Linked DNA regions of Homo sapiens: region 2 is linked to region 1. The links are contacts of gene promoters, found by promoter capture Hi-C in blood cells and fetal thymus (Javierre and others, 2016). All regions are on one chromosome and are shown on one strand. Each heading gives the region's core, a stretch centred on a gene start or on the middle of the fragment in contact. The rest is flanking DNA. Distances are from core to core; before and after follow the strand shown.

Region 1 (7,061 bases), core at 3,106-5,605:
AGCCCTCTCTTTGTCCTTCCACCATGGGATAACATACATACCAAGTAGGCTCTCACCAGATGCTAGCCCTTCAATCTTAGAATCTTCAGCATCCAGAACCGTGAGCCAATAAACTTCTGTTTATTATATGTTACCCAGTCTGTAGTATTCTGTTACAGCAGCAGAAAATAGACTAAGAGAATACCCCAAAATCAATTGTGTTTCTATACATCAGCAATCACCAATCTGGAAAATTAAAAACAATTTCATTTATAATAGCATTTGCTAAGAACTAAATATGTCCCCTCAAAATTCACATATTGAAGCTCAAACCCCCAGTGTCACTGTATTTGGAGATGGGACCTATATAAGAAGGTAACTGAGGTTAAATTGATCACAAGAGTGGAGTTCTGATGCTATAGATTAGTATCTTTATAAAAAAAAAAAACAACAAAAACGACCAGATATCTTTCTCTGTGTGTTTCTCTGTCTGTTTCCCTTTCCTTCTCCCGCTTCCTTTATCATATGAGAATGCAGAAAGAAGGTGGCTATCTACTCGCCAGTAAAAGAGCCCTCACCAGAAACCAAATTGGCAAGCACCTTGATCTTGGACTGCACAGCCTCTAGAACTATGAGAAATAAATTTCTGTCGCTTAGGCCATTCAGTTTATGGTATTTTGTTATGGCGGCTTGAGCAAACTAAGATAGATTTTGCTACCAAGAAGTTGCATGTTGCTTTAATAAAACCTAAACATGTGAAAGTGGTTTTGGAACTAGGTAATGGGTAGAGGCTGAAAGAATTCTGAGGTGCATGCTAGAAAAAGCCTAGATTTCCATGCTAGAAATATGGATGTTAAAGGCAATTCTGGTAAGAACTCAGAAATACAGTTGAAGAGAAAGCCTCCATCTTCTTAGAGAAAACATAATCATGAACACAATTTTGGTAAATATATGTTTGTTAAAGGCCATTCTTGTGAGGTCTCAGATGGAAATGAAGAATGGGTCACTGGAAGACAGAAGAAAGGCAGTCCTTGTTATAAAGTAGCAAATAACTTGGCTGACTTGTTTTCTAGTGTTTTCTGGCAGACAGAATTTGTGAATGATAAAATTGAATATTTAACTGAGATTTTTAAGCAAAATGCTGAAAGTGCGACCTGGATCTTCCTGAATGCTTATAGTAAAATGCAAGAAGAGATGAATGAAAGAAGAAATTATTAAGCAAAAAGGAACCAAGACTCAAATATTTGGAAAATTATCTGCCTGTCATGTTGCAGAAAATGAGAAAGTACATTCTAAAGAAAACACCAAAGGTATGGTTAGACTATCATTTGATAAATAAATGATGAGATTATATGAGCAGAAACACTGCCTGTTTCAACTGAAGGGGATGCAGACAAGACAAAAATGACAGAAGGCTTTTACATGTCCTAGATTCTACAGGACAGGACAATAGAGCTATCCAGCTGCTAACTTTGTACTATTCCTTTTTTTTTTTTTTTTTGAGACAGATTCTCACTCCATTGCCCAGGCTAGAGTGCAATGGCGGGATCTCAGCTCACTGCAACTTTCACCTCCCAGGTTCAAGTGATTCTCCTTCCTCAGCCTCCCAAGTAGCTGAGATTATAGGCATGCACCACCAGGCCAGGCTAATTTTTGTATATTTAGTAGAGATGGGGTTTCACTATGTTGTCCAGGCTGGTCTCAAACTCCTGACCTCGTGATCTGCCCACCTTGGCCTCCCAAAGTGTTGGGAGTACAGGCGTGAGCCACCGCACCTGGCCAAACTTGTGCTATTCTTTAAGAAAAGGGGAGAATGACCTCAAAGCAATTCAGATGTTATCAAGGCCATTACCTAGCAAAACTTTTGGGATGAGACTCTGCCTGGAAGAGCATGCCTGGCAGAGTGTGGGGAGAGGTATAGCATCCACCTAGGGTCCAGAAGGCAGGGCCACCACCCTTGTAGGTCTGGAAGGCAGGGCACTGAATCAAAATGGATTATTCTTGAGCCTTAAAATCTACTAGAATTTGCCTTGCTAGATTTTTGGACTTGCTTGGGACCTGTCATCCCTTCCTTTTTGCCTATTTCTTTTATTTCCTTCCTTTCTTGCTCCTATTTTTGTTTGTTTGTTTGTTTGGAATGCCTATTCTATGCCTGTTCTGCCATTGTATTTTGGAAGCAAACAACTTCCCTGGTTTTACAGTTTCATAGCTGGGGAGAAAATTTGCATCAGGATGAATCATATCTCAAGTCTCACCCTTATCTGTTTTAGGTGATATTTAGAAGAGACTTCGGACTTCAGATTTTAGAGTTGATGCTTTTGAGACTGTTGAAGTGGTATGAATGTATTTTGTATTCAATAAGGACATGAATTGCAGGGGTACAGAAGTCTGTTGACCAAATTATATCTCCACAAAATTCATATATGTAACCCCAAACCCCAATGTCACTGTATTGGAGATAAGATCTATAAGGAGGTAATTAAGGTTTAAGAAGATCATAAAGGTGGGGCCCTTATCCAATAGAATTAGTTACTCATAAGAAGAGACATGAAAGCTAGTGTGCTTGCACAATGGATTCTTGGTGATGACACCAAAAGCACAAGTAACAAAATAGATAAATTAGATTTCATCAAAATTAAAAAGGTTTGTACACTGAAGGATATTACAAAGAAAGTGAAAAGACAACCTACAGAATGGGAGAAAGTATCCACCAATGATATATCTCATAAGGGTCTAATATCCAGAATATATGACTACACATAACTAACAACAAAAACACAAACAACTCAATTTAAAAATGGGGAAATACCTGAATAGAGAGTTCTCCAAAGAAGATATACAAATGGCTAACAAGGGCATGAAAAGATGCTCAAGATAACTAGCCATTAGGGAATGCAAATCAAACCCACAATAAAATACCACTTTATACCCTTTGGGATGGTTACTATCAAAGGAATAGAAAATTATGGTGTTAGTGAGGATGTGGAGAAATTGGAATCCCCCGACAATGCTCTTGGTATGTAAAATGAATGGTTCAGCTGCTGTAGAAACATTTGTTTATGGGTTCCTCAAATATTTTCACGTAGAATTACTATAAGACCCAGAAGTTCCACTATGTTTATACCCAAAAGAATTGAAAACAGGGACTCGAACAAATACTTGTATACAAATGTTCATATCATTGCTATTCACAATAGCCCGAAAGTGGAAACAACCCAAATGTCCATCAGTGGATGGACAGGTAAAACTGTGGCATCTAGGTACAGTGGAATAGTAGCCATAAAGAGACATGAAGTACCGATACATGCAACAAGGTGTACAAGGTGAACCTGCAAAAGATTATGCTACGAAGACAGACCAAAAGGTCACACATTCCATTTATATGAAATATCCGTAATAGGTACCACAGTTTGAAAGCTGATTGGCATTTGCCAGGGGCTGAGAGAGGGAGGAATGGGAGTAACCACTTAATGTGTTCGGATTTTATTTTGGAGTGTACTTTAATACACTTATAATGTGTGCAACCACTAACTCTAATTCCAAGACACTTTCATTCATTATGACCCTTGGCATTGTGAACGGCAAATAATAAATGCTCATTAAAAAGATTCACCCCAGGCCGTGCATGATGGCTCACGCCTGTAATCCCAGCACTTTGGGAGGCCAAGGCGGGTGGATCACTTGAGATGAGGAGTTCAAGAGCAGCCTGCCCAACATAGTGAAACAGTCTCTACTAAAAATACAAAAATTAGCCGGGTGTGGTGGTGCACGCCTATAATCCCAGCTACTCCGGAGACTGAGGCAGGGAGAATCGCTTGAACCCAGGAGGCAAAGGTTGCAGTTAGCTGAGATTTCTCCACTCCACTCCAGCCTGGGCGACAGAGCGAGACTCTGTCTGAAAAACAAACGAACAAACAAAACAAAACAGACCTTACAATGTGTGCTAGTAATGCGGTTTCTGAATTTTTAGAACCCTTCTCTGGGGTGGTTTTTTTAAAAACATAAACTCATTGGCAGTTGATATACTACAGAAGGTTGTACGCATTGGACTAGTAAATGTAGGTAACGGTGTCGCTGTTTTTCCATTTGTATGTGCTAAGCAAAGAGAAAAGCTAGTTCTATGTTTCTTCCACTCTAGAAATTCAACAGGGTCGTTTTTCCCCAAATTCACATCTACACCCTCCCTCCCACTTTGCGGACTCGGACTCCAGGATTGAGCAGAGATCCTGGGCCCCGCCTCCCGCCCGGACGCAAGTCTCTGCGGGCCTCACCGGCGTCCTGCGCGGAACGCAGCGCTCCAGGCTCCTGGCAGCGGCCCCGCCCTCCCGGCTCCTCCCCTTCCGCCCGCCTTCCCCGCCCCTCGGCCCAGCCTGCCAATCGGAAGTGCGGCCGCCGGAACTGGCTGTTGGTGGGGGTGCAGCACTGAGCCGCCGACGGGGCGGGTGGGCTTTGCTGCCGAGCAGGCGGCGCCGTCTTGGGGCCTAGCGGCGAGGCGACCCGCACAGGTGGGCGGTGGCGGTAGGTGGGTGGCCAGCGACTGGCAACGCGGTGGCTTAGACGCGCGAGATCCGGCCAGGGTCAGAGGTGAGCGGGCCGCATCCCAGAGCCCGCTGGAGGAAGACGGGGTCCCCAGAGACCCGGCAGGCCGGGGCGGAGGTTGAGGCAGCTAAACTCCAGGTGGACGCCTACATCGCCTTTCGCGGTGTTGCTAAGCCGAACTTTTAATTTTAGTTTGACTTTTGGGTTCCAGAGACGGGTATTTCCGGACACTGGCAAGAATTTTGCCTTGCGTGTCTTCGAAGGCGGTTTTCTTGGTGTCCATATTGCATAAAGGCTTGTCGCTCCTCTGTGGAGATGACGGTTGTACAGGTAAAGCCTAAGTTGTGACAAAAGCTCCTGCAATGGGAAGACTCTGGTCGATCAGGGAAATCAGTAGAATTGATAGCAACGCGTAGAATTGATAGCAACGCTTAGAATTGGATTAATTACTGGCCATGGTTACCCGGCGCTCAGAAATGAACTTGGAGAACAGTTGCCCTGGAAGCCATCTCCCGTAGCCACTGCGTAGTGGGGGCCGCGTCTTCTTGAGTGCAATTCATCAAAGTCTCTAGTAGGACTCAAAATATAAAGTGACGAGCAGGATTTTCGGAGTCGAGTACAGTGTACTTGGGTTGATCACCATGTTATAAAGTTAGATCCAAATTAAGAAATACATATTCGTCTCTGAGCAGAATTGGGTCCTTTTTTTAATTGCTTTGCTTTTTTTAAAGAAATGTAAAAACAGATGCCGGTTTGATTAGTTTGCAGGTTGTAATATTGGAAGGGACCTAAGATTGGACACAGAGTTCTGAATTCTGATCTAGGTCTGTGATGTTAGGAAAGTCAGTTGTTCTGATTGCCTTATTCTGTAAAACGGAAATGATAATGATTACAGTTTCCTCACAGGTTCTAGTAAATTCTGTGTATAGACAGAATGTTTGCTTTGTGAGAGATATGAAGTTATTAGTTTTTGTCTGAAGTACTTAAATAATTTAAAGTTAGTAAGCCCCCATCCCCAATTTAGTGACAAGAAATCTTAAAGTCATCACATTTTGTCCGAAAAGTACATAGTGTATCTTCATCTTCAAATTCAGTGGTCAGAAAATTTTCACGTTCACCTAAATTCAACTTAAACCTCCTACGAGCTTTTCAAGGGTAGGAGTAATATCTTACTCATTGTAAATGATCGTAAATCATTTACAGTTGTATGGTGCTTGTGTTTGTGTTGTATTAGGAGGTTAGTCCATTTTTTAAAGTTTCAGACGGAGTTTCACTCTTGTTGTCCAGGCTGGAGTGCAATGGGGCGATCCTGGCTCACTGCAACCTCTGCCTCCCAGTTCAAGCCATTCTCCTGCCTCAGCCTCCGGAGTAGCTGGGATTACAGGTGTGTGCCAACACACCCGGCTAATTTTTAATTTTTTTAGTAGAGACTGGGTTTCACCATTGTTGGTCAGGCTGGTCTCGAATTCCTGACCTCAAGTGACCCACCCGCTTCTGCCTCTTACAGGCCTGAGCCACCGCCCCAGCCAACTTTTTTTTTTTTTTTTTTTTGAGACGGAGTCTCTCTATGTCGTCCAGGCTGCAGTGCAGTGGCGCGATCTTCGCTCACTGCAGCCTCCACCTCCCAGGTTCAAGTGATTCTCTTGCCTCAGCCTCCTGAGTAGCTGGGATTTCAGGTGTACGCCACCACACCCGGCTGATTTTTGTGTTTTTAGTAGAGACGGGGTTTCGCCATGTTGTCCAGGCTGGTCTCGAACTCCAGGGCTGAAGCAATCCACCTGCCTTGGCCTCCCAAAGTGCTGGGATTATAGGTGTGAGCCACTGCACCCGGCCTTCTGTATTTTTTTGTAGAGACACTTTCCCCATGTTGCTCAGGCAGGTCTGGAACTACTGCTCCTGGGCTCAGGCCATCTGGCAGCCTCTGCCTCCCAAAGTGCTGGGATTACTGGCGTGAGCCACACCCCACCTGGCCCTTTCCTTTTTTTTTTTTTTTTTTTTTTAATGGCTTGGCAAAAAACAAAGCTTTGGGGTTCACCAAAAATCAAAGCAAAACTGTTTTACCTGGAAAATCTTGTTTTCTGTCATCAGAAGTTGTGCTTTAGTTCAGCTGTGTAGACACCCAGTAGTGGTTACATGAAGTTAGGTGAATAGATTAAAAATAATTTTTATTTGTCATCAGTCTCAGAGCAAATGTTTTCTATTTATTTTTATTTCTAACTTTTTTTTTTTTGAGACAGGGTCTTGCTCTTTTACCCAGGCTGGAGTACAGTGGTGTGATCATGGCTCACTGCAGCCTCTATTTCCCAAGCTTAAGTGATCCTCCTGCCTCAGCCTACCGAGTAGCTGGGACCTGTGCCACCATGCTGGACTAATTTTTTTTTCTTCCCTTAGTAGTGACAAGTCTCACTATGTTGCCCAGGCTGGTCTCAAACTCCTCAGCTCAGATGATCCTCTCACCTGGGCCTCCCAAAGTCCTGGGGTTACAGGTGTGAACCACCATGCCCAGTCTTATCTCAGAGCAAATGTTACGCACCATCCTTTGC
Region 2 (6,921 bases), core at 2,320-4,819, 2.6 Mb before region 1:
TCAAATTACTGAAGCATGCTTATTTCCAGAACACAAGAAGGGTATACTTACTTGTGTATAGTGTTATATATACAAGATTATTCACTGCAGAATTGTTGGGAATTGCAAAGACTAGAAATAATATAAATGTCCATCTAAAAGGGATTGGTTAAATAAATTATGATATACTCATTCACAAAAAAAAAATCTTTATGCACTTACGTAGTATAAGCTTTGAGATATGTTAAGTGAAACATCAAGGCATAGAAACAGTTGTAATACCAACAGTTAAAAACTTAAAAGGAATATATACATGCATACTTACTTGTGTATACCTAGTTGACACATATATAATGTGCACATTAACTATCTCTGGAATGATCTATTTAAGAATAAGTACTGGAATCCTCCAGGCTAGAAACTGAATAACTGGAAGTAGAACTTGGAGAAACTTAAAGGGGAAGGCCTCTCTGAGGTGACTTTGAACTGAGGCCTCAGTGTAGGCAACAGCCAGTCATGGGGACAAAGCCTTCCACAGACAGAGCAAACAATGAGTACAAAGACCCTAAAGTGGTAGAAGGAAGGCCACTATGACTGAAGTTATGAGAAATTATTACGATTTTAGGCAGGGGAGTAATGTAATACGATTTATATTTATAAAAGTTTATTCCAACTTTGTAAGGAAAATGAATGGTAAAGGGGTACAAGAAAGGAGGTAGGTAAGAGAAAAAACAAAAATAATCCCAGTATGGTTTGATAGTGGCTTAGACCAAGATGGCAGTAGTACAAATGAAAAAGAGATATTCCAAAATATGGCACGGTGGCTTACACCTGTAATCCCAGCAGTTTGGGAGGTCAAGTTGGGAGGATAGTTTGATGCCAGTTCAAGACCAGCCTGCATAACATAGTAAGACCCCTATCTCTATAAAAAAATCAAAAAATTAGCCAGGTATGGTGGCATGTGCCTGTAGACCCAGCTACCTGGGAGGCTGTGGCAGGAGGATCGCTTGAGCCAGCAAGATCAAGGCTACAGTAAGGCCATGTTCTCTCCATTGGACTCCAGCCTGGGCGACAGAGTGAGACTTGGTCTCAAAAAAAAAAAAAAGATATTCCAAAAATATTCTTCAAAGTAGAACCTATAAGATATGTTTGTGGATTTGCAGGAGATGTAAAAAAAAAAAAAAAAAAGTGACAAGAATCCAAAATTATTCATATGCTTCTTGCTTGACTGGGTAAATGGTGACGTTCTTTAGTGAGAGCGGAACCAGTTTAGGGAAAAATCAAGAGTTCCGCCCATGTTAAGTTCTATGACGTCAATCAGTATCCAATTGGAGGTATAGTATAGACAACTAATTCTACAAATCTGGAGCTCAGTAGATGTCAGAAACAGAGTTATAAATTTGAGAGTAATCATGCTTTTTGCTACTTAAAACCATGAAAGTACAAGATTTTTCTTACAGAGAAAACATGAATGGAAGAGAGAGCAGAGAACCAAGCCCAGGACATCCCCATTGTACACTAAATTCTGCAGATATACATTTCTACACCTCCACTACTGTATATTCTAGTAGGCTTACCCTTTCATGTTTCTATTTGTTATTTTGAAATATTGGCTGGATTGACAAAAACAGTAAAACTATTTATATAAATTCAATTTAATATTTCAGAGGAAGCAAAAATATGTTTACAACTATAAATACTTACTGTACAGAAAAAAAAAACCCATGAAGTGAAGCAGTTTCTTTAGACTATAGCCTTGAAATGTCCTAAGGTCTGGTTCAAAGAAGTAATCAGTAATGTTGAACGAATGAAATCACAGACTCAGATGCAAATTACAGTTCCACCAGTTACTAGTTATATGACAACCTAGCTGCACTCTCTCCATGCTTTATTTTCCTCATGGTAAAAAGAAGGTTATGTGGCCGGGCGCAGTGGTTCACGCCTTGTAATCCCAGCACTTTGGGAGGCTGAGGCGGGCAGATCACCTGAGGTCAGGAGTTCAAGACCAGCCTGACCAACATGGAGAAACCCCGTCTCTAATAAAAATACAAAATTAGCCAGGCGTGGTGGCACATGCCTGTAATCCCAGCTACTTGGGAGGCTGAGGCAGGAGAATCGCTTGAACCCGGGAGGCAGAGGTTGCAGTGAGCCGAGACTGCGCCCATTGCACTCCAGCTTGGGCAAAAAGAGCAAAACTCTGTCCAAAAAAGAAGGCCATGTTATCTATATCAGAGCAAGTAGCAGTCTTAAATGATATAATAAATATCAATATGAGACACATTAAACACTTCATAAATTTTATGATAAAATTAATATTTGTTAAGAAAGAGTAAGTGCCAGGCTCTTTGCAAAGGACTTTACCTGGAGTCTCTCACTGAGTCCTCAAATAACAACCATGAGAAACTTAACAGCAGGATTCCTAATTCCTAAACAGAAGCTGAGATTAGTGAAGGGACTTACTCAAATCATGATGCACACATTTAGTGGTTCTATCTAATAAGTGGTAGTCTCCAGAGCCCTAATTTCTTATTCATTACATTGCAATGTTATTTTTTTACATATCGGAATCAAATTGTTATCGACAGCTTATTTTCAGTTACCTACATATTCACCTATAAAACTCTCTAACTTTGACATATGTTCTTCTTTATGTTACACTGTCATGACCAATTTACCTAGCGACCCACAGAGACAGAAGAGATGGCTGGGTATGTGAGGAGCTGTAAAGTCCAACTTAAGTTTCAGGAGGTACTTGTGAGAGCATGCTGTCAGTTTATCTTCTAAAGAAATACAGCCTGAGCCCACAAATCATAGCGCTTGGCTCAACAAAAACTAGTAGATATGAGTTCATTTCAGCCACGGGCAAAGGTAGTTCTTTCGCGCTGCAAATTATTGCAATTGTTGTCACTTGTCCGTGGAAATGCACCCTTATCCCTACCACTGCTCTCTTGGTCTCCCGACCCCCATTTGCGCTACCTTATCTTGGAATCTGCTCTTTTGCATCTGTTTCATATCCAGTCTTGTGCTCTCCTCCACTCTCCCAGCTCACACAGCCAAACGCCTCCAGGGGTGTTTGGAGGACACTTCTCGAGGCACCACCGTTCACCAATCCCATCCAGAGAGCCTTGAAGGCACCTTTTCAGGTGGAGAGAACACCCAGGAAACCCCTTCGCTTTTCCGGAGGTTGCTGGGGCTCCCCCTTCTCACCGCCCCCGGCGCCCGCAGAGCAGCGGAGCCCGCAGGTCTGGGGTCACTCGCGGTCCCTCTGCTGCCGGGACGAGGGAGACCGCGGTGGGTCCCTGACAGACGCCGCCCCTGGCCCGGCTCAGCCCCGCAGGAACCTGTGACTCCGGCCCCGCCAGCCCCGGTTACCTTGTCGTTGTCCAGCCGCGTCTCCAGGATCTTATGCAGCTTGCGCGACAGCGGGTTGCAGGTCGTCGCCGAGGTCCCGCCTGCCCCATTGTTGAGGCCGTTGGCAGCCCCGGTCGCAGACACTGCGACCACTTCCCCGCTGCCCTCTGCCATAGCGCTGCGCGTCCCGCCCCCTGCTGCCACCTCAGCCAGGCAGGGACCACGGAGGCAGCGCGAGTATTGCGCATGTGCAAATCGGCCGCGCATGCGCATCGGCCCCGGAAGTCTTCGCCGGGTAACCCTGCTTGGGCTCTCAGAAGCGTGAGGGGCGGAGAAGATGTGGGGGGCGGGACAAGACCCTCAGGTAGAAGGAGAAAATTTATAGGATTAGAGAGGACTTTGGAATTATGGATCTGCGACCTTCAGAGCTAATTAGATGACAACCAAATGTAGTATGTAAAATACACCATGACTTGTGCCTGGCATATACATTCAATATAAGTTAACTGAAAGTTTAAATTACATTTGCCTTATCTGAATTCATTTTTTTGAAAATTATTTATTGAAGGCATAGTATGTGCCAGGTACTCTGGTAGGCATTGGAGAATCTACATTGTGTGTCTGAAACAGACAAAGCTGTTAATAGATGTTATTAGGTTGTGATGAGTGCTCAGGGGATGAAGTAGTACAGTGAAAGAAAATGGAGGGAAAGGCCCACTTCACTCAGGGAGGTTTGGAGAGGAGTTGACACTTAAACTGAGATTTGAAGGAGAATCAGAATGTGAGGAGAAATCATTCCCAGGCAGAAGAAAGTGTGTAAGTGTACAGGCCTCAAAACAAGATGAACTTGGCCCTGACACAAATGGACCAGAGCCCATGTAGCTGTAAAGTAATGGATAAAAATGTAACAAGTTGAAAAAACTTCCCGGGAAACTCTGGAAAACAAACATCATTGCTTTTTTTCTTTCTTTTCTCAGTTTTTAAAATTTGGATCAAAATAAAATCGCTGGGCTTCTGTGAATTATTTGTCAGAAACACTATTTGGCTCTTGTCATAAATTTTCCTTGTTTCATATATGTCTATGTACATAGTTATATTGTATATCAGACTTAAGGGAAAATTACCTATTACAGAGGTCACATAAAGAAAGCACTGACAAAACCACTCATCTCTACTCTAATGAAGAAGAGAAGGCCCAACTATCCAAAAGAAAAAAATATACAAAAAGCAGCAATATCTAGGTATGAATTCAACAAAAAATACAGAGAACCTAGATGAAGAAAACTTTAAAATGCTACTGGGAGAACATAAAACTTAAATCAATGAAAAAATATATTGTTCTCTTCAACAGGAAGACTCAATATTGTAAGATGTCTTTTCTCTTTCACAGATAAATTTAAGTTCAGTGTAACCAAAATTAAAATATCAAAGGTTTACCTAAGGTGTATATATCCAAATGAATTTGCATATATACAAAGCAATAATATAATGTAGAGCTTGCAAATATGTACAATTAAAAGGAATGACGATGATAACATGCCAAGTCAGGAGCGGTCATGAAATACCACATATTGTATGACCTCTTTATGTGAAATCTCCCAAATAGGTAAATCAATAGAGATAGAAAGTAGATGAGTGGTTCTGGGAAGAGGAGTGTTGGGAAGAGGGAATGGGGAGTGTCAGTTCATGGTACAGGTTAATTTTTGGGGAGATGAAAATACTCTAAAGCTAAATTGTGGTGATGGTTGCACAACTCTGTAAATATACTAAAAAACACTGAACTGTACACTTTAAATGAATGAATTGAATGGCATGCAAGTTTCATCTCAAATCTGTTTTTTAGGCCAGGTATGGTGGCTCACACCTGTATTCCCAGCACTTTGGGAGGCTTAGGCAGGGGGATCTCGAGTTCAGGAGTTAAAGACCAGCCTGGGCAACATAGCGAGACCCTGTCTCTACAAAAAAAAAAAAAAAAATACGAAAACTAGTCGAGTGTGGTGGCATGCCTGTGGTCCCAGCTACTTGGAAGGTTGAGGTGGGAGTATCACTTGAGCTCAAGCCTGCGGTAAGTCATAATCATGCCACTGCCCTCTACTCTAGCCTGGGTGATGGAGCAAGGCCCTATCTTAAAATTGAAAAAAAAAAAATAAAGCTGTTTATTTTAAAAAGTAAATTGGAGATAAATAGACAAAATGTTTAAGTAATAAAAAATACAAATTTATATTAATTTTTAAAATCTTTATTTAGATATAATTTACAGGCCATAAACTTCACCTATTAAAAGTATAAAATATGACAGCTTTTAGTTCATTTACAGAGTTGGCAAATATCACCATCATCTAATTTTAAGACATTTTCATTACTTTAAGAAGAAAACTGTACCCACTAGCACTCCCCATTTTCCCCTCTCTACCACCCTAGGAAACCACAAATCTGCTCTCTGTCTCTATAGATATGCCAGTTTGGACATTTCATATAAACAGAATTATACAATATGTAACATTTCATGCCTGACTTCTTTCACTTAGCATAATTTTTCAAGGTTCATCTATTTTGTAGCTTGTATCAGTGTTTCATTCCCTATTATTGCCAAATAATAATCCATTGTATGGATCTCCCATATTTTATTCATTCGTCAGATGGCTATTTAGGTAGTTTCAAATTTTTGGCTTTTATGAAAAATGTCTCTGTGAATTTTCATGTGAGAGTTTTTGTGTGGATGTATGTTTTCACTTTCCTTAGGAAGATACCTAGGAGTAGATTGTTCTTATGGTTAACTCTATGTTTAATGTTTTGAGAAACTGTCAAATAGTTTTCCGAAGTGACTGCCCCATTTTTCATTCCCACCAGCACTGTATGAGGGGCTCCAGTATTCTTCACATCCTGACTAACACTCATTATGGTCTGTCTTTTTTATCTTATCCATCCTACTCAGTGTGATATGATACCTCATTGAGATTTGGCTTTCCATTTCCTAGTGACTAGTGATATTGAGTTGTAAGAATTCTTTATATATTCTGGATACTAGTCCTAACAATTTATTGGAAAATATTTTTTCCTACTTTTGCTTGTCTTTTCACTTTCTCAATGGCATCCTTTGAAGCACAATTAATCTTAATTTGATGAGATACAACTTATCAATTTCCTTTTTTATTATTTGTGCTTTTGGTGCCTTATTCAAGAAATTATTACCCAACCTAGATCACAAAAATTTATTCCTGTGTTTTCTTCTATTACATTGGCACAAAAGTAATTGCAGGTTTTGCCATTGAAAGTAATGGCAAAAATCGCAATTACTTTTGCACAGGCCTAATAAAATTTTATAGTTTCAGCACTTATATTAAAGCCTATCTTGTACCTTGAGCTAATTTTTGTGTATGGATGTTAGGTAGGGATCCAGTTTTATTGTCTTAAATGTGGATATTCAGTTGTCTCCCACACCATTTGCTAAAAGGACTATTCTTTCTCCCATGTGAGCTTTTCTATAGATTGAGAAAAAGCCGATGATAAAATCCAATATCCATTCATGATTAAAGAAACAAGTAAACTCTTAGCAATTTGAATAAAAGGGGATTTCCTTAATTGGATTGA

What was found. Contacts are between HindIII fragments. The CHiCAGO score rates a contact against its expected background, and 5 or more counts as called.
Region 2: the fragment with the promoter of COG6 here is called in contact with the fragment with the promoter of SUPT20H in region 1 in 4 of 17 cell types (naive CD8 T cells, total B cells, naive CD4 T cells and 1 more); the score reaches 13.4 in naive CD8 T cells.

What each region holds. Positions count from the first base shown.
Region 1 is chr13:37,056,982-37,064,042 of GRCh38, reverse strand. It overlaps SUPT20H (SPT20 homolog, SAGA complex component), which reads left to right and starts at 4,355. Exons shown (of 26, transcript NM_001014286.3): 1 at 4,355-4,484. RefSeq lists a silencer at 4,184-4,443. The HindIII fragment of the contact is 8,647 bases long and covers 1-6,542 here.
Region 2 is chr13:39,652,310-39,659,230 of GRCh38, reverse strand. COG6 (component of oligomeric golgi complex 6) reads right to left here and starts at 3,569. Exons shown (of 19, transcript NM_020751.3): 1 at 3,352-3,569. The coding sequence starts at 3,504. RefSeq lists a silencer at 3,256-3,305. The HindIII fragment of the contact is 8,496 bases long and covers 214-6,921 here.